Regions from separate parts of the Homo sapiens genome. Here all the other regions are linked to region 2. The links are contacts of gene promoters, found by promoter capture Hi-C in blood cells and fetal thymus (Javierre and others, 2016). All regions are on one chromosome and are shown on one strand. Each heading gives the region's core, a stretch centred on a gene start or on the middle of the fragment in contact. The rest is flanking DNA. Distances are from core to core; before and after follow the strand shown. Region 1 overlaps INTS9 (integrator complex subunit 9). Region 2 holds the start of PURG (purine rich element binding protein G). Region 3 has its middle 5.7 kb from the start of POFUT3. Region 4 overlaps ELP3 (elongator acetyltransferase complex subunit 3). Region 5 has its middle 85 kb from the start of EXTL3-AS1. Region 6 overlaps EXTL3 (exostosin like glycosyltransferase 3).

What was found. Contacts are between HindIII fragments. The CHiCAGO score rates a contact against its expected background, and 5 or more counts as called.
Region 1: a contact is called between a fragment that was not itself captured here and the fragment with the promoter of PURG in region 2, in 1 of 17 cell types (total CD4 T cells). The highest score is 5.3, in total CD4 T cells.
Region 3: a contact is called between a fragment that was not itself captured here and the fragment with the promoter of PURG in region 2, in 5 of 17 cell types (naive CD8 T cells, total CD4 T cells, non-activated CD4 T cells and 2 more). The highest score is 9.5, in naive CD8 T cells.
Region 4: a fragment that was not itself captured here is called in contact with the fragment with the promoter of PURG in region 2 in 1 of 17 cell types (activated CD4 T cells); the score reaches 6.2 in activated CD4 T cells.
Region 5: a fragment that was not itself captured here is called in contact with the fragment with the promoter of PURG in region 2 in 1 of 17 cell types (activated CD4 T cells); the score reaches 5.8 in activated CD4 T cells.
Region 6: a fragment that was not itself captured here is called in contact with the fragment with the promoter of PURG in region 2 in 1 of 17 cell types (total CD8 T cells); the score reaches 5.0 in total CD8 T cells.

What each region holds. Positions count from the first base shown.
Region 1 is chr8:28,884,401-28,888,325 of GRCh38, forward strand. All of the region lies in intron 1 of INTS9 (integrator complex subunit 9), which reads right to left. Among named protein-coding and RNA genes, the nearest start is that of INTS9, 3.6 kb to the right of the region's middle. The HindIII fragment of the contact is 4,325 bases long and covers 302-3,925 here.
Region 2 is chr8:31,031,884-31,035,527 of GRCh38, forward strand. PURG (purine rich element binding protein G) reads right to left here and starts at 1,473. Exons shown (of 2, transcript NM_001323311.2): 1 at 1,195-1,473; 2 at 1-905. The coding sequence starts at 899. It overlaps WRN (WRN RecQ like helicase), which reads left to right and starts at 1,927. Exons shown (of 35, transcript NM_000553.6): 1 at 1,927-2,090. RefSeq lists silencers at 1,455-1,504, 1,665-1,924, 2,895-2,964 and enhancers at 1,680-2,201, 3,035-3,084. The HindIII fragment of the contact is 5,494 bases long and covers 1-3,644 here.
Region 3 is chr8:33,476,847-33,480,936 of GRCh38, forward strand. No RefSeq gene overlaps it. Among named protein-coding and RNA genes, the nearest start is that of POFUT3, 5.7 kb to the left of the region's middle. The HindIII fragment of the contact is 9,428 bases long and covers 1-4,090 here.
Region 4 is chr8:28,095,119-28,098,988 of GRCh38, forward strand. It overlaps ELP3 (elongator acetyltransferase complex subunit 3), which reads left to right. Exons shown (of 15, transcript NM_018091.6): 2 at 2,101-2,200. Among named protein-coding and RNA genes, the nearest start is that of ELP3, 3.9 kb to the left of the region's middle. The HindIII fragment of the contact is 911 bases long and covers 1,314-2,224 here.
Region 5 is chr8:28,614,256-28,618,310 of GRCh38, forward strand. It overlaps a transcript of EXTL3 not described here. Among named protein-coding and RNA genes, the nearest start is that of EXTL3-AS1, 85 kb to the right of the region's middle. The HindIII fragment of the contact is 3,428 bases long and covers 366-3,793 here.
Region 6 is chr8:28,705,074-28,708,963 of GRCh38, forward strand. All of the region lies in intron 1 of EXTL3 (exostosin like glycosyltransferase 3), which reads left to right. Among named protein-coding and RNA genes, the nearest start is that of EXTL3, 5.5 kb to the left of the region's middle. The HindIII fragment of the contact is 760 bases long and covers 1,003-1,762 here.

The DNA of each region.
Region 1 (3,925 bases), core at 1,214-3,713, 2.1 Mb before region 2:
TCTGGAACACCTGGGCTCAAGTGATCCTCCTCCTCAGCTTCCTGAAGTGCTAGGATTACAGGTGTGAGCCACTGTGCTTGGCCCGATATATTTTTTTGCCTTGTTAAGTATAAAATATTTAATCTTCAGAATAATAATTTTGGACTCTGAAATGCCTAAGAGTAAAATATCCATCTTTATCACAGACCATTACTGAGAAAGGTATGTAACTTAGCCTTATGTCACACGCAGCTTTTCAGAGTTTGAGGAAATCATGAAGGAAAAAACCTATTGAGGTTATGATAAAATATGACCTTTGAAAAGCTTGAAATGACATTACATCCTAAAGACACAGGAGGGCACTCTTATTAACCAGCAAAGAAAAACAGAAAAGACAGTGAAGTCAAGCTGACATTTTAACAATTTGTACTGCAATAGTTGAATCAAGCACCGATAAAATGTTGAGGGCTTGTAATTTATAGCCCGAGATTTCCTGTTTTCATGTACAACCTAGGAAGCCAACAGGATTCTACAACCATGTAAACTGGAGGAAGAATCCAACACTCTCAGATCCAAGGTGAGGATTAACCACGCCCCTTTCTAATGATTTCTTAAACTGACCTTGGGGCAGGATTTGCCCCTTTCAAGCAATCTTCTACATAATCTACAATTGCACTCGGTGTTTTACTTGTCTTCCACTGGGAGCAGTCCATGAATTCATTTCTTTGCTCCATCTGTTTTCCCAGGAGAAATGGCAAGTTAAAAGTTTGAGCCAGTAGAAATGAAACAGCATTTTGAACAAAGGAGCAAAGACCACTGAAGAATGTATTTCGTGGCCTTCTCAAGTTTTAAAATTTGTAAACACAACTACAGCATGTAATTTTCTCCTTCAAATTTAATAAGTATAGTATAACAAGCATTTAAATGACCTTCCTTTAAGACTTTTAACAAGCCGGCCTCTGCAGAGCGCCATGGATTCTGAGGCACTCAGGCCCCTCCCAAAGGATTAACATTAATCTTAAAGTCACATTCAAATTTGTGTCTCAGCAAAATTATAAATAATTCCATGTCACAGGGGTCAAATGTAATGGTTAAAATGGAAAGCGTTAAAATTGTGAATGCCAAGGGTATACTGTGGTTGCATAAAAAATCTTTGTTGACTGAATAAGCCAGAAGATTCTCTCCATCTCAGGTACTATCTGTAGGAAGTACAACACACAGGCTGCATTCTTGAACTGCTTTGGATTATTTTATTCGCTTGACTCTTCATCTATTTAAATGACTGGGTTCCTGGCCATGATGTTTCAAACTTAATTTCTGTCAACGTGCTCAGAATTTTTTGTTCCATGTTCTTTCGGTAAGGACCTTTGTGAATTCCAGTTTCTATCCTTAGCTGAACTGGCCATCAGCGTACTCAGTTAGGCTCAATCTATACAAATAACAGAACATGCTCTAAAATGTGCTAATTTAAAAGATATATTTCTAATTTTCCTCTGCTTTCTAAAATGATTCTGGTTAACTGAAAATGCCAATGAGTTTTCTTCAGTTAAATAAAGCTGCCTGAATATTGCATATTATAAATACGGAAAGCCACTGAAATCCTCTGAGTTGGTATCTAAGAAGGAGATACCCAAGTATTACGTTATAATGGCATCCATTGTTTTCATGTGGGTGTGTGAAAAGCCACCAAGAGGGTGATGTGCAAAGTTAGAGAATTATAAATGGTATCACAGGAGCTAAATTTGGAAGATAAAAAATACTAACTTCAGCACCAAATTAGTATGCTCTGATATGGGGGCCTTTAGCTCATCAAGAAAGTCCTCAAACTTAAAAAAAATTTTTTTTTAACCAATAACCTTAAAAACTTTTTTTTGTTTTTTGTTTTTGAGATAGGGTCTCATTTTGTCACCCAGGTTGTAATGCAGTGGTGCCATCACAGCTCACTCCAGCCTCAACCTTCTAGGCGCAAGTGATCCTCCTGCCTCAGCCCCTCAAGTAGCTGGGACTACAGGCACATGCCACGACGCTCAGCTAGTTTTTGTATCTTTTGTAAAGACAGGTTTTGCCATGTTGCTCAGGCTGGTCTAGAACTCCTGATCTCAAGCCATCTGCCTGCCTCCGCCTCCCAAAGTGCTGGGATTACAGTCATGAACCACTGCACCTGGCCTGAAGATCTTAATTGAACCACACTTGCATTTAAAGCTAATTTTTAAAAATAGCCTTGAATATATTTTCTGTATGCACTCTACCTTCTTTTTTTTTAAGAGATAACCTAGGCATGGTGCAGGGTGCTAGAGTTCCTACCCTCACTAAATAACAGGGAAACCTGGGTTTCGATCTTGGCTCTATCATTTTTAATCCATGCTAACTTTAAGCCACTTACTTCACCTCCCTGAAGCTCACATTTTTTGTCTGTAAAATGGGAATACTGTCACCTGGATCAAAGGATTAAATGGGAAACTACATAGCAAATACTTAGCACATTGCCTGGCACACAATAATTGCTTTATAAAAGGTAGCTATCATTCCTTTTTTACTTCAATGGTTACTGCTTATTGTAATCTCTTTAATTTCACTCTTTAATCTTTTCTCAAGGGTATCCATAGACCTTGATAAACCTTCAGAAATTATTTACCAATTATTTACACAGAATCTACATGGGGGAGGACAGACACACGCCAATAATTACAAGTGCTACAAATAGGAAGTATGCCATCAAATATATAACAGGGGTACTTAATTCAACGAGGCCCTGAAGAAGTGTTATTTAGACAGAGATCTGAAATATATGAAGAAATTAGCCAGGCAAAAAAGAGTGAGGCAGGCAATGGAACATATTCAACCAAGTTAAGTGTAGGAGGTTATCCTAAGGGCAAAGGAAGATACTGAGAGGGTTTCATGGAACTCTGCAATTAAAACAACTTCCGGATGCAGAGGAAAGAATGAATTTGAGAGGGTTAAGACTGAATGCAGAGAGACCAGATAAGGGGTCTTGTTGAATTCCGATTACAAAGACAGTATTCTAGTTGGACTGGAGAGAAATAGAACCTATTTAAGAAAGCTGCATTTAGGAAGCAGAATCAATAAGAGGTGGTCATAGATTGTGTGTGGGAAGGGTACTCTGGAAAGTGAATCTCAAAAATGAGAAAATGCTAAACAAAATGTGTTTTTGTTTCATAATTATAAATTTAAAACACAGCCTATTACATATTTCTGAAGCAGTACACAAAATTAAAACTTTTAGGCCATGGGAGGACTTATTCCAACCATTTGGGAGGCATGACACACCCATCTAACTTACTGAGCAACAATGCTTTTGGTATGTTGATGGGAATTCTCAATTACATTTATCTATCAACTACCAAATAAATTTTAGTATGTAATACATAGTTGCAAAGTAAAGAGGGAGTATGAGTATCAATAGAATACTTCCTTTTCCTCTGAGACATCTTTGGTTCTTAATGGAAAAAATAATTTTCCACTTTTTTACAATCCCCGGTTTCATATTTCTAAATAAATTAAGCAGGAGGATTTTATGAGCAAACTAAAATATATGTAAAGTAAACCCTGGCTTTTTGATACCCTCACTAATGAGTTGTTATGGGAAAAACTATTTCACACTTCCCTGCCTTCTTAAACTGAACACATTAAATATAATTTGCTCTTTATTGAGAACACAGGGTCCATGCTTTAGCCAATAAGGTACCAAGCTCTTATGCTCCTATAAGCTGACCTCTTTCATGGAAGGCCCTGGCTTACTTATCCTTATCAGTTCAAGAGTCACGTTTCCAGGAAGCTGTCCCCTGACCTCCCCAATCCTCTGTTCTCTGAATTCCCAAAACCCTGAACACGCCTCTATTTCACCATGAACACAGTGAATTATAATTTCGGACCAGGCATGGTGGCTCATGCCTGTAATTCCAGCACTTTGGAAGGTTGAGGTGGG
Region 2 (3,644 bases), core at 223-2,722:
ATAGTATTACGGTAAGGTGGTCTCACCTCACTTACCTTCAGGAAAATTCCATATTTATTAGAGCCCACATCAAAGTAGAACCTTTTATTGTCCACTCTGAAAGAAGTCCCCTCTGGGAGTTCAAGCGGGTCATCGTCTCCACCTCTTCGTTCTTCTATGTCTCCTTCGCCATAGTCTTCAATCAGCTGAACCAAGGCATCACGAAACTCAATCATTCCTTGTGCTGGGAGGACAATAGTCTGTTCTTGGCCCAAACTGTGGCCAAAATAACCTATCATGCCAGTCCCCCGCATCATGGTTTGTCTAATCCGTAGGAAGCGACCCCGCTGATTTTCCTTTAGGTCTAGGTAATATTTCCTATTGTCCCTCTCGATATAGTCTGTTTTCAGGACACTGTGAGGATGCTCTTCGGACCCCACCGAGACTGGTGGGGAGGGTGCCGAGTGCTTCTGCCTCCTTCTGGAGCCTTGCTCTTTGCTGTGGCCATGCTCTTGCCGGTGGCCTTTCAGGCCCAGGTGGGCATAGTGCTCGATGAAGTCCCCTAGACAGTCCTTCAGCTCCGCTGCCACAGACAGGGAGAGGGTCAGTTTACTCTTTCTGATGTTGTCCTGCCGGCCTCTCCCTATCCAGACTTCGGCTATCTTTAGGAAGCGGCCCCGGGAGCTTTGCTTCACGTCTAGGTAAAACCTCTTTTTCTGGATGTCCACTCGTTTGGAGGCCAGCTCCTGGATTTCGGCTGCGCCCCCGGCCTGATTAGGGGTGGCTGAGGCCGCGTAGTGGGGGTAGTGGGAGTGCTGGGCCTGGGGATAGAGTCTACTCTTGCTTAGGCCAGAGCCCCCTACATTCTTGCCTCCGCGGCCGCGGCCGCCGCCGCCTCCCCTTCGCCTGGCTCTTTCCATCTTCAGCTGCAAGTAACAAACAGACACACGGGATGGGGTGGGGGAGGGGTGTTGAGAACAATCGCAGACGCCCCTCGGCCTGACCGCCCCGCCGCCGCCCGCGACCCCCACGCCGGGCCCGGCTCCCCCGGCGCCGCAGCGCGGGGCTCCAGCCACTGCCGGCCGGTTGGCGGCCGCCGCTCCGGCTCTGCCCGCGCTCCCCGCATCCCTCCGCCGCCCCCGGGGCCGCTCCCGCACGCCGCCGCCGCCCGTCCCGCGCTCCGCGGCCCCAGGTCTCCAGCCGGCGGGCACTCACATCATCTCTGCCATCACCGCCGCCGCCGATGCCCTTCACGACCACCGCCGCCGCCACCGCCAGCTCTCGGCCCCTCTGCTGCAGCCGCCGCAGCCGCCGCCCCCCGCCTCCTCCCCCGCCGCCGCCGCTCGCACTGCCCCCCGCCGGAGCAGCCGGGCAGGGGCATCGCCCGCGGCGCCCACCGCAGCCGCCCCTCCTGCGGCCGCTGCGGGGGCCGCCGCCTGACTTCGGACACCGGCCCCGCACCCGCCAGGAGGGGAGGGAAGGGGAGGCGGGGAGAGCGACGGCGGGGGGCGGGCGGTGGACCCCGCCTCCCCCGGCACAGCCTGCTGAGGGGAAGAGGGGGTCTCCGCTCTTCCTCAGTGCACTCTCTGACTGAAGCCCGGCGCGTGGGGTGCAGCGGGAGTGCGAGGGGACTGGACAGGTGGGAAGATGGGAATGAGGACCGGGCGGCGGGAATGTTCTCACTTCTCCGGATTCCACCGGGATGCAGGACTCTAGCTGCCCAGCCGCACCTGCGAAGAGACTACACTTCCCGAGGTGCTCAGCGGCAGCGAGGGCCTCCACGCATGCGCACCGCGGCGCGCTGGGCGGGGCTGGATGGGCTGTGGTGGGAGGGTTGCAGCGCCGCGAGAAAGGCGAGCCGGGCCGGGGGCGGGGAAAGGGGTGGGGCAGGAACGGGGGCGGGGACGGCGCTGGAGGGGCGGGTCGGGTAGGTCTCCCGGAGCTGATGTGTACTGTGTGCGCCGGGGAGGCGCCGGCTTGTACTCGGCAGCGCGGGAATAAAGTTTGCTGATTTGGTGTCTAGCCTGGATGCCTGGGTTGCAGGCCCTGCTTGTGGTGGCGCTCCACAGTCATCCGGCTGAAGAAGACCTGTTGGACTGGATCTTCTCGGGGTAAAGTGTCTTCCTATTCCCGTTTTCCCAGCTCCGTGCCCCGGGGTATCTATAGTGCTAGGCTTCTGAGACACGTGGAGGCGCTTAGGCCCGCGGAGCAGGCCCCTGGGCTGTGTTTGGGAGATTCTGGAAAAACAGACTTTCTCCCTTTTCCTTTCCCCTCTGGAGCAGCTGGGAAAGGCGTCTCTCGGAGCTTCCGCCATTCAGAAAGTGTTTCCCCGCCCCTGACGGCCCCAGCTTGATGTTTACCTTGCGCGCTTAGTTAGGATTGCTCTTTCTAGTACGGCCTTTATTATGGCAGAAATTGAGCCACTACAGGTCTGCACAGCAAAGTCGAGGGAAATAACCTGCTGTCTATGATTTAGCAAGTGATGATGGATATTTTTGAGTTCAAATCACTCAGTCTTTAATGGATTTTCTTTTCTTTTTTTCCTAGTTGAATCTCAGTTGTTCTCAGGCTAGGTTTGATATGAAAAATACTACTCCCTATTGAAGAGGGTAATATAATTCTTAGGATGCTAATACAGGAGTCTGTAAGTCGGAGTACTTCAGGCTTTTTATGGTTCGGTACATTTCTTTTTAGGGGTGGGATATTGGGATAAGTAGGACAGTTCAGATCTTGATGTCATTGAATAGTGGTGTCTACCTAAAAGGAAGAGGCTGGGGCACAAAATTATAATTTAAAGTGTTTACTTCAGCCAAAATGAGGACAGCTGCCCAGGACTCATTTCCCAGTTGCCTTGGGGAGTGCTCCTTCAGCCTTGGTTACAAGCAGGTTTTTAAAGGCGAAGGGGAAGAGTGGGCTGAGACAAAGTTGGTCAGGAATTGTTATTGGTTTACAGAGATACCATTGCTTAGTGATTGGCTGTACACTGTAACTCATAGGGTATGAGTTATCGTGTCCAGCATATGGCATTTTATGGCTTCTTGGTTCCAGTCTAGAGCCCATATAGCAGGTGGGCTTTAAGAGATAATTATCCAGCTCAGACCGGGAGTGAGACGGGACTGTTTTTTCATTCTAATGCCTCTCTGGGCCTGATAATTTAAAGGGGCTTGCATTCTTCAGCTAAAATTTTATTTTCTTTTATTTTTTTTCCCCCACAGTGGTCTCCCTTTATTAATCCAACAAATGTTTATTAAGGACTGCTCTAGGCACTAGAGATACCAACAATGAACAAAACAGACAAACATCTCTCTCCTTTTGGAGCTTACATTTTAGTGGAAAGAGACAGGCAAAAAGTAAAATTATAGGATGACAGAAGGTGAAAATAGAGATTAAAAAGGAAAGGGGGATGAAGAGTGTGTGTGTGTGTTGTGGGTGGGGGGCTGTAGGGAGCTGCAGTTTTACAATAAGTGGTCAGGGACGTCCTCGCTGAGAAGGGAATTTTTGAGTCCAGAGCTCAAGGAAGTGAGAGAACTTACCTTGACGTTCTCTGGAGGAGAAGAAAGTACAAAGGCCCTGGGGGAACCTGCCTCTTTATGTTCAGAGAGCAACTTAAGAGGCCTAGTGAGCTGGAGCAGAGCGGAGAGGAGGTCAGAGGTCAGGCCAGAAAG
Region 3 (4,090 bases), core at 522-3,021, 2.4 Mb after region 2:
AGAAATGGGATGCTGTTTAACAAAAGCCTAAAATATGTGGCATTGGTTTAGGGACCAAGTCCTGGACAACACTGAAAAAGCAAGAAGCATGCTTGTGTTTGACAGACCTGATGCACTTACTGTCTGCTGCCAAGGTTTCCACTACAGATGCAAAAAGAAAAAAAGCAGTGCCATGCTCTCTGTTGGATTGTGGCAGCCAAGATTGAGTGGGGGAAATACAGGAGAAAAAACATGGTAATAAAGGGAAAAACATGGACAGAGAATTTTTGCAACTCAGAAATAATCTTGTAAATAGTAAAGAGCCTGTTTTACTCCAAAACGAATTTAAAATTTGAGGGTTTTCTTAAGGTGCTAAGAAAACTGCTATAGCAAACTGGAAGAATGATGACATGTTAGATAGCAGTAAAATACTTGGTAAAACTATTACCTGTAACAACTCACAAGATATAAAACATACTTAATTTGTATGCCTTGATAAAATGATTTCCAGGCAGAATGCTAAATGTGTTAGTTGGTGTCTTTTAGCTGCATATTGTAAGGACTGCCAGAAAGAAATAAGAGAAATAAGGAGAAAGGGGTGCTGTACAGAATTTAGAGGAACTATCAAGAGATTAAAATTGAGCAGATTGGAAAATAAATCCTGTTCTTATCTCCAGCCTCCCCAGCCAGTAAAAGATCCTCAAGATGAGGCTGGAAGATCTTTTGTTAAGACATCTAAAAGAGTTAAGTTGGTACTAATGGATCTTTTCAGTTAAACGAAAGAGCCAGTAAGAATCATAAAAATGTCTTCTCTTAGCTGCCGGTTACAGTCAAAGTAAGCTCAATTAAGTCTGGAAAGAAGTTTGTCTGAAAAAAAAAAATGATGTATACAGCTTTTGACCAGCGGAGTAGACTGAAATCAGACTCAACATAGAAAGTTCACAAAGTTTCAAAAGTTTTACATAGCGAACATGTTTTGACCAGGCACAGTGGCTCACGCCTGTAATCCCAGCACTTTAGGAGGCCGAAATGGGCGGGTTGCTTGAGGTCAGGAGTTCAAGACCAGCCTGGCCAATATGGTGAAACCCTGTCTCTACCAAAAATACAAAAATTAGCCGGGTGTGGTGGCACGCTAATTAGCTGGGTGGGGTGGGCCAAGTAGTAATCCCAGCTATTTGGGAGGCTGAGGCATGAGGATTGCTTGAACCCGGGAGGCGGAGGTTGCAGTGAGCCAAGATTGCACCACTGCAGTCCAGCCTGGGTGACAGAGTGAGACCCTGTCTCAAAAAAAAAAGTTTCTGAGGCCCCAAGTTTCTGTGGGCAAGATACAGACTTAGAAGGGCACTCAGCTGCCAACAGGAGTCATTTCTTCCTAAGAATCCACAAAGCCTAATGGAAAAGAAAGGTGCTTCAGAGAATCAATCCAAGAGCTTTGGTGAACCAGGTGTCAGGGAGCCATTCCTAGAAAGCAAAACTGGGCCCTAATAACAGAATGTTCCCTGCCCCTGGAGAAGAGGGACCTGACAACATTTGCTGGGTGGAATTTCAGTATTGCATGGAGCAGTGACTGCTGTGTGCTTACCGCCGGGTACTAACAACTCTAATTGAATATCTAGTGGGCAAATGAAAATCAACACGTTCAGGCTGGGCATGGTGGCTCACATCTATAATCCTGGCACTTTCAGAGGTTAAGGCCAGAGGACTGTTTGAGCCCAGGAGTTTGAGACCAGCGTGGGCCATGAAGCAAGACCCTGTATCTACAGAAAATTTTAAAAATTAACTGGGCCTGGTGCTACCCACCTGTAGTCCCAGCTACTCAGAAGGCTGAGGCAGGAGGATCCCTTGAGCCCAGGAGTTTGAGGTTGCAGTGAGCTATGACTGTATCCTCCAGCCTGGGAAACAGAACAAGATCCTGTCTTTAAAAAAATAAAGCGGCCAGGCGCGGTGGCTCATGCCTATAATCCCAGCACTCTGGGAGGCCGAAGTGGGCGGATCACGAGGTCAGGAGATCGAGACCATCCTGGCTAACACAGTAAAATCCCGTCTCTACTAAAAATACAAAAAAAATTAGCCGGGCGTGGTGGCGGGCACCTGTAGTCCCAGCTACTTGGGAGGCTGAGGCAGGAGAATGGCGTGAACCCGGGAGGCGGAGCTTGCAGTGAGCAGAGATCGCGCCACGGCACTCCAGCCTGGGCAACAAAGCGAGACTCCCTCTCAAGAAAAAAATAAAAAATAAAAAATAAAATAAAGTAACATGTCCAAAATTCAATTCTCACCACCTGTAAAATCTGCTCCTCCAGTTGGGCACGGTGGCTTACGCCTGGGTGGCTCACCCAGCACTCTGGGAGACCAAGGCGGGAGGATCACTTGAGGTCTGGAGTTCGAGACCAGCCTGGCCATCATGGCAAAAACCCATCTCTACTAAAAAATTTAAAAATTAGCCAGGCGTAGTGGTGCATGTCTGTAGTCCCAGCTACTCGGAAGGCTGAGGCAGGAGAATCACTTGAACCAGGAGGGAGGTGGAGGTTGCAGTGAGCTGAGATAGCGCCACCGCACTCCACCCTGGGTGACAGAGTAAGACTCTGTCTCAAAAAAAAAAAAAAAAAAAAAGAAAAAGAAAAGAAAAGAAAAGAAACAAGTAAAGAGGGAGCCTGGTGACCTTCTATAGGCAGCTTCAGTTCTTGCATTCCCCTGTTTCTAAGAGGGTACAAACTGTTTCAGAGCATTGCTTCTCAAATACAAGTTCTTGCACTGCTAATGTGTCTGGCACTATCTAATATGTGAATCATCTGGGAGCTCTACTCCTTGAGTTTCTGACACAGCAGTTCTGATGTTATCAATGAAATCTGTATTATTAATCAGTTAACAATTTGCTTCTGATGTTTGAACATAACCAAGTTTGAAAGTCATTCCTCTAGATTGTTTCCTCATCACCTCTTTCCTATTTCCCTTTTTTTTTAGATGGGAGTCTTGCTCTGTCACCCAGGCTGGAGTGCAGTGGCACAATCTCAGCTCACAGCAACCTCCACCTCCCGGGTTCAAGCAATTCTCCTGTCTCAGCCTCCCAAGTAGCTGAAATTACGGGTGCCCATCACCACGCCCGACCAATTTTTTATTTTTAGTAGACACGGGGTTTCACCATATTGGCCAGGCTGGCCTCAAACTCCTGACCTCAAGTGATCTGCCCGCCTTGGCCTCCCAAAGTGCTGGGATTACAGGCATGAGCCACCGTGCCCAGCCAAATATTTCCCTTCTAACATGGAATAAAAAGATAGATGAAGTAGATAAAGGAGGGAAGATGTGGTATGTAAAATGCTAGTTTTTTTCCACATCCTGGTCTATGTTCTGTGATAAACATACAGTCATCTAATGAACAAAGAATCACAAATATGTTCTACCCCAGGATCTGAGAGTTCTCAACTTCCATCCCCTTCCATCTCAGTATTTCTTCGTCTGTGAACAAGATATGAAGCAAATGTAAAACAAATAGAAGCAGATATTCCCCACTGCACCTTTTTTATGAGCAAAAGCAAATATTGAATCATTTAAGGAATATTCATGGAGAGGCAGTTAAAACACACTTCATCCACCGGTGCAAAACTCTGAATGATCGAGCTCATTGGCAAGACAGGAGGCTGCAGAAATGACCCTCCCCATAGGACTTCTAAAAAAAAAGTATTGTTTACATTTTATTTATTTGTGTTTTTAAATTGATATATCATAGTTACATATATTTTGGGGGTATGTGTGATACATGTATACAATGTGTAATGATGAAATTAGGGTGATAGAGGTATCCATCACTTCAAACATTTTTCTTTGTGTTGAAAACATTCTAATTCTTCTCTTCTAGCTATTTTGAAATATGCAATAAATTATTGTTAACTATAATTTCCCTACTGTGTTATCAAATACCAGACTTTATCCTTCTATCTAAGTGTTTTTTTTGTACTCATTAACCAACTTCTCTTCCTCCCCCTCCTCTCCATAGGACTTACAATCATTGTGTTGAACTCAAGATCATCCAGCTCCAACAATTTTCTTTCCTTTCCTCCTTTGCAGTTCTAGCTGCTCAATTATTATTTTGGCAACCTAAAAATCACATTAATAA
Region 4 (3,870 bases), core at 519-3,018, 2.9 Mb before region 2:
AGATAGGTAATTCCTATGCCTGACATTATTTCTTCTGGATTGCCTTCTGTTTTGCATGTCCAAATCTTGCCCTATCTTTAAAGATCCCTGTGCCATTTCCTTCATGAAGTCTTTTCCTACTCATTTACTCTTCCAGTTCTTGATACACTCAAGAGCTATACAAGTGGTTTCCAAATCTTATCTGTTCTTATCAGCCGATCCCCTTTTACCCTCCAAATAAATTCTTACACAGAACCTCAATATATAAACAGCTGAAAGCAGAGCTGCTGTGGTGGAAATAAAGAGACCTCCTCCTTTTTTTCCTCCATGCCTTATTTTCCTCTTCCCTTCTCCCTTCCTCTGCCATGACCACCACCAGTCCTACCTCTGTTGCATGGCCCCTGAGGCACCTTTGTAGAACTCTGGAAGTGCTGAGTTACATGGTTTGGAAAGCATTTAGCCTTTGAGTATAGATGGACTTTATTTCTCTCAAAAATTGTTGTGTATATGTTAGCCTTGCCTCATTAAATTAGATGCAGTGTGTTACAGTGAAAAAAGCATGGAAGTTGTGGTGAAAAGAGCTGGATTTGAGTCTTGGCTCTGCTGTTTACGATAGCTTGTTAACTTGCCTTAGCCTCATTTTTCACATCTATAAAATGGGATAACAGTACCTACCCTCCGTGTTACTGTAAGGGTTCAAATGAGATAAAGTAAATGTGTGGGCTCCATAATTGCCAGGGCCTTCCATCCACGCTTTCATTATGTTTTAGCTTTCTCTGCAGTGTGAGTCCTCAGCCCCCTGGGCCACGGACCAGTACCGGTTCATGGCCTGTTAGGAGCTGAGCCAGACAGAAGAAGGTGAGCAGCAGGCGAGCAAGTGAAGCTTCATCAGTATTTGCAGCCACTTCCCATCACTCATGTTACTGCCTAAGCTCTGCCTCCTGTCACATCAGCAGTGGCATTAGATTCTCAAAGGAGTCTGAACCCTGTTGTGAACCGTGCATGTGGTGGGTCTAGGTTGTGTGCTCCTTATGAGAATCTAATGCCTGATGATCTGTCACTGTCTCCCATCACCCCCAGATGGGAGTGTCTAGTTGCAGGAAAACAAGCTCAGGGTTCCCACTGATTCTATGGGAACAGAATTCGTTATGGTGAATTGTATAATTATTTCATTACATATAACAATGCAGTAATAAAAATAAAGTGCACAATAAATGTAATGCACTTGAATCATCCTAAAACCACCCTGCTCCCCTGGTCTGTGGAAAAATCATCTTCCATAAAACCAGTTCCTTTTATCAAAAAGGTTGGGAACCACTGCTCTACAGGTGAGAAGCTTGCTTGCTGACAGCTTCCAAGCTGATATCCCACAGCTTTTGTCCCTGGAAAAAGACTGGCATTTTTTACCTTGAAGAAAAGAGCTCAGATTGGCCTGGCTTAGAGATATGCCCATCCTTGAACCAATCCTTGAACTGTGCTTGAGTGGATGGCGTCATACAAGAACCTGTCAGCTTCTGCTGTTGCCTTTGGATGAGACCGAGAGCCCCAGTTGCCAGAAGTTCATGATGGTGGACAGACAATATTTTAGAAATGCATTAAGATTCTTAGGCAGATACCTGGGTTTGAGTTTCAACTTTACTCCTTGATAGCATCTTCATGTAACAGGCACATATTCTTGTTCTGTCTACCTCTGTTCTGAGAATTACCTGAATTCATGCATCTAAATGTTCTTTATGAACTCTAAAGTATTATGCACATATTAGTAATTACACCTCTGGAGATAAAGGGAAGAGAATTACTTTGGTCCTTTCCTGTGTGATTAAGTTCTTTCTCCTCACATTGTTTCTACTCCTGTATCCTTTCCTGTATTTATTTTTAATAATCTCATAGAGTATGTGCTTCTAAAGGGAGCTTTTCCCATATATATGTAAAGCCACGTTTGTTTTAAAGATACAAAAGATATGATCAAATTGTAAACAGTAGAGATTTAGCATCTTCTGAACTTGAGCTATTCATTTGGCATATTTGTATGGTTTCGGATGGAAAACTGCTACTAAATCAGATTTTAAAATCTTGATTGAATGATACGATTTTTGACATTGTTGAATATTAACTTTCCAGGAGATCTCAGCCCTGCTGAGCTGATGATGCTGACTATAGGAGATGTTATTAAACAACTGATTGAAGCCCACGAGCAGGGGAAAGACATCGATCTAAATAAGTAAGTGGATATAAAGAGAGAGCAAGCTTGTTCTTAGGTAGCAGATCTCTTTTATGAAATTATCTAGTACTACTTGTTTTCCAGCTCAAGTTTTATTTTAGTTGAGAATTTTAGCTTTCTGCCTTGCCTTGTCATTCATTTCTTTTTTTTTTTTTGCAAGTTCCGCCTCTGGGGTTAACGCCATTCTCCTGCCTCAGCCTCCTGAGTAGCTGGGACTACAGGCGCCCGCCACCACGCCTGGCTAATTTTTTGTATTTTTAGTAGAGACGGGGTTTCACCGTGTTAGCCAGGACGGTCTCGATCTCCTGACCTCGTGATCTGCCCACCTCGGCCTCCCAAAGTGCTGGGATTACAGGCGTGAGTCACCGCACCCGGCCGTCATTCATTTCTTGATGGCAAAATTGTCTCAGCTTAAGAATACTAATAGCTTCTAACATTTATTGGGCACTTACTGTATTCCAGACACTGTTGCTAATGCATTGTATGTATTAGCTCAGTTAATCCCCTCAAAATTCTGTGAGATAGGTACTGATACCAGCCACACTTGACAGGTGGGTAATCTGAGTCAGAGAGCAGTTAAATAATTTGTCCAGGGGTAAGTAACTAGTAATTGGCAGAGCTGGGATTTGGAATTAGGTCAGCCGTCTCCAGAGCCCATGTTCTTCTGTGCTGCATCGCTGCACATCCTACTTTCCTTCCCTACTGTCTCAGCTGAAGCAGCAGCTTTCTGTCAGGAAAACCCTCCCTTTGGGGCCCCTGATCTAATCCAACCCTCCCCTGCTGTAGAACCTCTTTGACACATTCATCCACTTCCTCTCCATAATCATTTTCAGCTTGGACTTTCCTACAGTCTCAAATAAGAGTTGTCTTTCATCTCTGCATCTATTTTTTTTTTCAAACTATAATATATATTCACTCTATGTAGATCTTCCCTAATGAAAGGGTTCTCTCCCCAACCCCAGGTCGTCTAATCATCACATACAGGAATGACCTTTTCTTAGACTCTCTTCTCTGATACTTGAGATGCTGCAATATTTTACCCCTTCCTTGAATCCTCATGCTTAGTAAATATTTGCTACAGGAATAAGTAAATATCCTCTTTTGACTATAAAGTTATTGTATTTTACTGATTTTTCTACCGTGTCTTTAGAAGTTTTTCTTTCTTTTTTTGTTGGTTATACCCCTGATTATACAAATCTTTAATTTCTAGTGAACATTTCTACATCTTATATATATTTGTTGTTCTCTTTAATTTAGCACATCTAAAGCTAAAGCTGCCATCGTCCTTAAAACTCGCCCCTCCTCAGATGTCACCAGCCTATTACTGGAAGGTCTCTCAGTCTGGCTTCAACCTGCTTTTCCAAGTTTTTAAACCTCTGTACCTTTACATTGAAAATCTTCTGCTTTCTGTCAAGTTGGTCTGCTTGTATTTCTTAAAATATATGCATTCCTGTTTTTGCATCTGCACATAAATCAGCCTGTCTGCCCTCCATGTCATCTTTGTGTCTTTAGTGACTGAGACCTACTCTTTCTTCTGTGCTCATTTCCATGAATATCTCCCCAGCACACATCAGATTCCTCCCTGAACTCTGGAAGCATTCATTGTTGGTATGTGTGTGTGTTTTATGACATATGTTTTAATCATTTATACATTAATTTTCTTGGTACGC
Region 5 (4,055 bases), core at 830-3,329, 2.4 Mb before region 2:
TTTGTGGGGTTTTTTGCTTTTTTTTTTTTTTTTTTTTGGATAGGGTCTCACTCTGCCACCCAGACTGGAGTGCAGTGGCACAATCTCAACTCACTGCAACCACTGCCTCCCAGGTTCAAACAATTCTCTTTCTTCAGCCTCCTGAGTAGCTGGATATACAGGCACGTGCCACCATGCCCAGCTAATTTTTGTATATTTTGAATAGATGGGATTTTACCATGTTGCTCAGGCTGATCTCGAACTCTTGGGCTCAAGCGATCCACCCGCCTCGGCCTCCCAAAGTGCTGGGATTACAGGTGTGAGGACCCCAGTTCTTCTGTTTACTTTGTATTTATTTTGCTGTTTTTAAATTTTCCTGAGGTGGAAGCTTAGGTTGCTGGTTTTGGATATTTCTTCTCTTCTCATATCTCCATTCAATGCTATAAATTTTTCTCTCTGCATTGCTTTCACTGCACCTACAAATTTTGATAAATGATATTTTCATTTTCATTTAGTTCAAAATGTTTAACAATTTTTCTTGAGACTTCTTCCATGTATTATTTAGAATTATGTTTTTCATTTCCAACTTTTAAGTGTGGGGTACATGTGCAGGATATGCATGTTTGTTACATAGGTAAATGTGTGCCATGGTGGTTTGCTGCAAAGATAATCCCAGCATCCATTAGCTGTTCTTCCTGATCCTCTCCCTCCTCCCACCAGGTATAAAGCCCAGCATCCATTAGCTGTTCTTCCTGATCCTCTCCCTCCTCCCACCCCCGCCCTCCAAATTATGTTGTTTAATCTCCAAATATTTGAGAATTTTCCAGCTATTTTTCTGCTATTGATTTCTAGTTAAATTCCATTGTGGTCTGAGAGCATATTTTGAATGAGTTCCTTTCTTTTACGTTTCTTAAGATGTATTTTATTCAGAATGTGGTCTACCTTTGTCAGTGCTCCATGTGTGCTTGAGAAGAATTTGTAATTTGCTGTTGCTGGATAAAGTATTCTGTAGATGTCAATTATATTCAGCTGATTGATGGTGCTGTTGAATTCAGCTGTATCTTTACTGATTTTCTGCCTGCTGAATCTGTCTACTTCTGACAGAGGAGTGTTGAAGTCTCCAATAATAATAGTGAATTCATCTATTTCTTCTCTGCAGGTCTATCAGTTTTTGCCTCATCTATTTTGATGCTGTTGTTAGGCACATACATATTGAGTATTTTGATGTCTTCCTGGAGAATTGACCCGTTTGTCGTTATGTAATGTTCTGCTGTATCTCTGATAATTTTCCTTTCTCAAAAGTCTACTTTGAAATTAATATAGCTACTCCAGTTTTCTTTTTTCTTTTTTTGAGATGGAGCCTTGCTCTGTCACCCAGGCTGGAGTGCAGTGGCTTGATCTCAGCTCCCTGCAACCTCCACCTCCTGGGTTCAAGAAATTCTTCTGCCTCAGCCTCCCAAGTAGTTGGGATTACAGGCATGCACCACCATGCCAAGCTAACTTTTGTATTTTTTTTTTTAATAGAGACGAGGTTTTACCATGTTGGCCAGGCTGGTCTCAAACTCCTAACCTCAAGTGATCTGCTTGCCTGGGCCTCCCAAAGTGCTGGGATTACAGGCTTTAGCCACCATGTCCGGCCTGCAGCTTTCTTTTGATTGGTGTTAGCATAGTATGTCTTTCTCCAGCTCTTGGATTTTATTACATTAAATCTATCAGTAGGCCAGGCACAGTGGCTCACACCTGTAATCTCGGCAGTTTGGGAGGCTGTGGCAGGCGGGTCACTTGAGGCCAGGAGTTTGAGACCAACTTGGGCAATATAGGGAGATGCTGACTATCTTTTAAAAAAAGAAAAAAGATATCACTGGTGAAATTATTATTGTGAAAAATGTAATGAAGTATTCTTGCAAAGGGCAGTACAGTAAGCTACTTTCAGTCATTTATACTTTAGTTTGAATTAGTATATAAGAGACTTTCAATAAACAGGTAAAGAATACTTTTCGGTGGAGGGAAATGGGGGAGGGGGTGAGGAATTAAGAGTCAGTAACTGAAGGAGGGAGATGGAAGCCCCACAAACAAAAAGAGAGGCAGTCAGACATAAAAGCCAAAACGTTCCAGGCACAGTGGCTCACGCCTGTAATCCCAGCACTTTGGGAGGCTGAGGCGGGTGGATCATGAGGTCAGGAGATCGAGACCATCCTGGCTAACAGGGTGAAACCCCGCCTCTACTAAAAAAGTATAAAAAATTAGCAGGGCGTGGTGGCGGGCGCCTGCAGTCCCAGCTACTTGGGAGGCTGAGGCAGGAGAATGGCGTGAACCTGGGAGGTGGAGCTTGCAGTGAGCCGAGATCATGCCACTGCACTCCAGCCTGGGCGACAGAGCGAGACTCCGTCTCAAAAAAAAAAAAAAGCCAAAATGTGTGCTCTTCAAGATTCTTGCCCAGGGCTGATACCGCCTGAATGCTTAAGAGTTTTCCTCTCTAAGTGAATTCAGTTAACAGGTGTGCGCTGAGTATAGATTTGGGTGTGGAGAGTGAACCAGGAGTGCATCAGGGTTCCCAGGAAACAGCTGGTGACACAGCACCTGGAGACTCCTCTTCATCTGCCTTGGAACGCATTGCCTCGGAACCAGCTGTGGACACTGAAGGGAAGACAAAACGGACTTCCAGGCTTATTCTCAATGTTCCTCTTTGCTTCCTTCTTACGGTCACGTCTTTTGCAATCTCAAACCCTTTTCACAAAGGCTGCATCAAGGAAACACAGTATGCCTACTAATACCCAACTCCAGGAATCCCACTTCCTGTTAAGAGTGTCTTAGTCTTGAGAGGATTTGTCCTGGCAGGACTTGCTTTTTAGCCAAGCCAAGTATGTGGTGTGTCTGTGGGATGATTTGAGGAGTGTCTGCAAGATTGCCCTGTCCTACTCATGCCAAAAATTTCACCATGAATGAGTCATACCTGTTGCTACCAACACCCCGTTCCGAGAAGGCAAGGACACAGAAAGAAGATGGGGCAGCTTCCTTCCTCATTTTTCATGGGGATGGCCCGTGACTAGGGTCTACAGTGGAAATAAGATCTTATGTGGAGGAGAAAACATATGTGAAGTGTAAGCTAATGTTCATAGCAACATTATTCACGATAGCCAAAATGTGGGAACAATCCAAGTGTTCATCAAATGAATAAACAAAAAGGAATGTATATGTACAATATACACTGTACAATAGTACCATATATATGTACTATTCAGCCATAAAAAGAAATGAAGATCAGGCCAGGCATGGTGGCTCACACCTGTAATCCCAGTACTTTGAGAGGCCAAGGTGGGTGGATTGCTGGTGGAGCCCAGGGCTTCAACACCAGCCTGGGCAACATGGCAAAACCCTGTCTCTACAAAAAACACAAAAATCAGCCAGGTGTGATGGCACATGCCTGTAGTCCCAGCTACTTGGGAGGCTCAGGTGGGAGAATCACTTAAGCCCAGGAAAATGGAGACTGCAGTGAGATAGTGCCACTGCGCTCCAGACTGGGTGACAGAGCAAGACACTGTCCTCAAAACCAAAACCAAAATCAACAACAATAAAAAAAACAAGAAATGAAATTCTGATACATGCTACAACACGGATGAACTTTGAAAATACTATACTGAAAGAAGCCAGACACAAATGGGCAAATATTGCACGATTCCATTTATATGAAATATCTAGAACATGGAAATTCATAGAGACAGAAAGCAGATTTGAGCTCACTGGGGTCTAAGGGGAGAGGGGAGTGGAAATTATTGCTTTAATAGATACGGAGTTTATCTTATGGGTGATGACAAGCTTTGGAAATAGTGTTGATGGTTGCCTAACATTATGAATATAGTTAATGCTATTGAGCTCTATACTTAAAAATGATTAAAATGACAAACTTTATCTTATCTTAAATATTTTACCATAATAAAAAAGACAGTGAAGCCGGGCATGGTGGCTCACACCTGTAATCCCAGGTACTTTGGGAGGCAGAGGCGGGTGGGTCCTCTGAAGTCAGGAGTTCAAGACCAGCCTGACCAATATGGTGAAACCCCATCTCTACTTAAAAA
Region 6 (3,890 bases), core at 133-2,632, 2.3 Mb before region 2:
GCCTTATGCCTGAAATCTTGGAGGTGAAACGAGAAGGAGGTCTTGGGAATGGCCTTGCTGCCTTGAGTAGGTAGGGTGGTGAAATTTTCCCCACAGCAAAACATGTTTTTGTGCTTCCTGGGAGCAAGGCAATTGTCAGTGAGGGCCTAGAGTCTAAAAGGATCTTTGAGGTCATCCGGTCTAACCCCTTAATTTACGAGTTAACAAAGGACAAGGAGCTTATGAGTCAAGAACGAGGAATTGGGAAGTTAGGGGACCTGATGAATCAGAAATATGGTAATGATGATGGGATGGTAAAGCGTCTCAAGCTGAATTCACCCACAAAGGGTGAAGGAGAATGCCCGAGTCATAAGCTGATTTAAGGCTGGGCACGGTGGCTCACACCTGTAATCCCAGCACTTTGGGAGGCGGAGGTGAGAGGATCACCTTGAGTCCAGGAGTTCAAGACCAGCTTGAGCAACATTATAGTAAGACCCTGTCTCTTAAAAAAAAAAAAAAAGGAAAAACCTGATTTATGTATGGCTTAGCAAACTTGCTTCACTTTCTCTATCTCATTCAGGGAGGCCCAGGGCACTAACGATATCAATTGTATGCCTCCACAGCATAAAATAAAAATCATGTATGTTTGAGAAGCGAAAACCGTTAGATTAGTTTATATTCTAGGCACTTGCATACTAAGTTGACTGTTCTGAGAATAAGTTAGCAAAATCCATCTGAAGACCTTATTTGAAAACCTTGTTTCTACATCGCTACCCAGCCCTTATGAAAATGACGCATCTCATTTTAGGAGGGAGAGTGAGAAAGATAGGAAGAATGCAGAAATCACCTATAATTTCACAATCTAGAAGTGCCTCTGTTGGTGTTTTTGCTTCTGTTTGTTTTTCTATTCAGAAATATATACATATGCATTTTAAACATGTTATACTGCATATATGGCTTTGAATCTGTATTTTTCCAGCTAACATTGTGAACATGTTTTCATTTTATTTAAAACCATTGAAAAGCTTCCTAATGGTATCATAGTCATATCAGTGACAGTCACACTTTGTTTAACCTTGCTCCTAGTCTTGGACATTTAATTTATATATTTTATACAGATGATAAAGAATAATGAGGTGATTGCATCTTTACATACAAATCTTGCTCACCTAAAATATATTCCTAGAAAGTGAAATTGCTGAATCAGAGATAAGAAAATTTTGAAGGTTTTTTTCTTACAAATGGCAAATTACTTTTCAGTTTACCTTTCTACTAACACAAGAGTACCTGCCACATTGTAGCAGCCAGCATAGTTCAGAGTTGTACTGTACTTTAATCACTATTTTAATGTTTTAGTATGAGCATTTTGGAAGTTAAATCTTTTTTCTCACTCATGATTCTTTAAGAATAATTTCTCGGATAGAATTACAGGGAAAGAGGATAGACACAGTTTCAGTGTTTTTATTACTGCCAAATTGTGCTCCAGAAAGGTGTGCCAATTTGCAATCCCAGCAGCCAAGTGTGGGAATGTTTACCCTGGATCCTGCTTAGCACCAGATATTATAATTTTACAATACTTTGATGATTTATTAGTGGAAAATATCACAGTATCTTGTTTGAAATGTGTATTTCTTTGATCGCTAGGAAGGTTAAACATATAAACATGTTTATCACTTGAACCCTTTTTTTGTGTAACTTCTTATTTATGTCCGTTGACCACTGTTGATTGCTTTCTTTTAATTCTGTCATATTGAGCAGGCTTCCCCATTTTTAATCAAATTTAAGCTTTTTTTTTTTCCTTCTGAATACATAGAATCATTTGATTCTTATATAGTCAAACCTGTTGAACATTTCTGGATTTTACTTTTGCTTGGATTCCTGGAAAAGTGGCTGTACTTGAGATGAGATTACATGTATATTTTCCTTTTCTTGTTACGGTTCATTTATTATAATTAACTCTTGAATCCACCTGGAACTTATTTTTGGATTTGGTTTGTCATGCAGTAATCTGACTTTATTTTTTTTCCCAAATAGATGTGTCACATTATTTATTGAAAAATGTAATGAGGTGTTCTTTAAAAAGATTGCAACAAGGTAATATTTTTAATTACAAAAGTAATACATAATGATTGTAAAATGAATTAAGACAAAATGAATCCTCTAAGTAAACAAATGGTAGATAAGCAAGAAGCAGTATACAGGGCTGTAGGTCATACGGACCTGGATTTGTAACTTGGTTGCTGTATTGCCTTGAACAAGTTTCCTATCCTTGGTGATACACCACTGCTTCATCGGTGAAGTGGAAATGACAGTACTCCCATGTGGCTGATGAAATGTATGTGTGAAGTGTGTTATCTAGAGTACTGTGCCTAGCACACTGTAAATATAAATCAGTAGCAATTATGAAAAAGCCCTCTCCTCCCCATCTTCCAAGGGTATGTGGTGCATTGAAGTGCGGACTTTCTGCGTTAGCTAAGGGATAGTGCTGTTTGTCTTCCTTAGCTGTCTATGTTGATTGAGCTGCCATCAATCTGAATCTCCATTACTATCAATTCTTCATTAGACCAATAGTTTTGGAGTTAGGGTTGTGTGCTCTGCATTAAAATCACCTGGGAACTTTGTCAAACTGCAGGAGTTTTCCCCCACACCTAGGAATTCTGATTTAGTTAATGTAGCACGGTCCCGGTTTGTTATTTGAAAAAATTCTTAAGTGGTGAATCTGATTTTTACACATAATTAAACTGACTGGTAAAACAATACGATTTGGATTTGTGGGACATTAGCGAACTGGTGGGAAGGGAAGCAGATAAGGCAATGGCATAATTTTCAAATTGAGGACTTATCCTGGGAGTTGAGACTTCTGGGCCCAGGTTTGTTGCCAAGTAAACAGATAACTTGGAGTAATCAATAGCCTCATTTTCCTTGTTAATATCTATATATTCAGCAGCGGAAGGAATGCTCACCACTTATTGATGAGTTCCTTTTGTATTTTGTGATTTGTCTGCTAGTGGCATTTGTGGAACACCTTGGGATTTAGAAACCTACTCTTAAGCCCAAAGAATAAATTGTTTTCCCTTTCAAACAGCCCTGTAATAAGGGCGGCTCAAACTCTGGTTCTCTGGTTGCATCATAATCTTCACTCTTCAGTCAGTAGGTCAAGGCACAACCAGTTTTTCACACTTCGTTTTGCTTTTTAATTGCTGAGGATGTTCTGTTTCCCTTTTTTCATCCAGGCTAGGTTACACAGTAAGAAACCACTGTGGTCGTTGGATTGTGAAAAACATAGGGCCTTGGTCTCCTGTAACTTGGGAAGTGTCTACATGTAGTTCTTAGAGCTTACTCTTTATCTACAATTAGTTTCCCTGGGAAGTGCCTTTTTTTTTTTTTTTTTTTTAAACAGAAGACAAATCAGTGATAGTGTTGGGAAATGTGTTTTAGTGCTTATTAACATACTTCCTGACTTCACGAACTAGGTACTGTCTTGCCTTGACAGGCTGTTTGTCATGCCTGTAGTTAGGAAATCAGGAAATGATGTTTTTTTGGGTTGTTAGTACTTAAAAACAAAACAATCCTCTGAAATACTGCTTTCAGTGACCTCACTGAAATGGTTTCCTGTGGAGAACTCTCTTTACCTAATTGGAAGGGCTCCTGGTGATGGCAGCAATGACAGCAGCATGCAGACAGCTCTGTAGAACCCGCACCTGGGTTGTCATGGAGTTCTGCCACTTGATGGGCCTATTTTGACCTAAATGAAAAAGAGAAAATAGTACTACAAGCACAGATATACAGGTGGGCCATAGGCACAGTGGCAAACATCTTTTGTTCTGAGTCTGCTATTCTCTTTAGCAGGTAAATACTTTGAATATAGTGTTGGTTTTGGGTTTTAGAGGAATATTATGTGTGTCAATTGT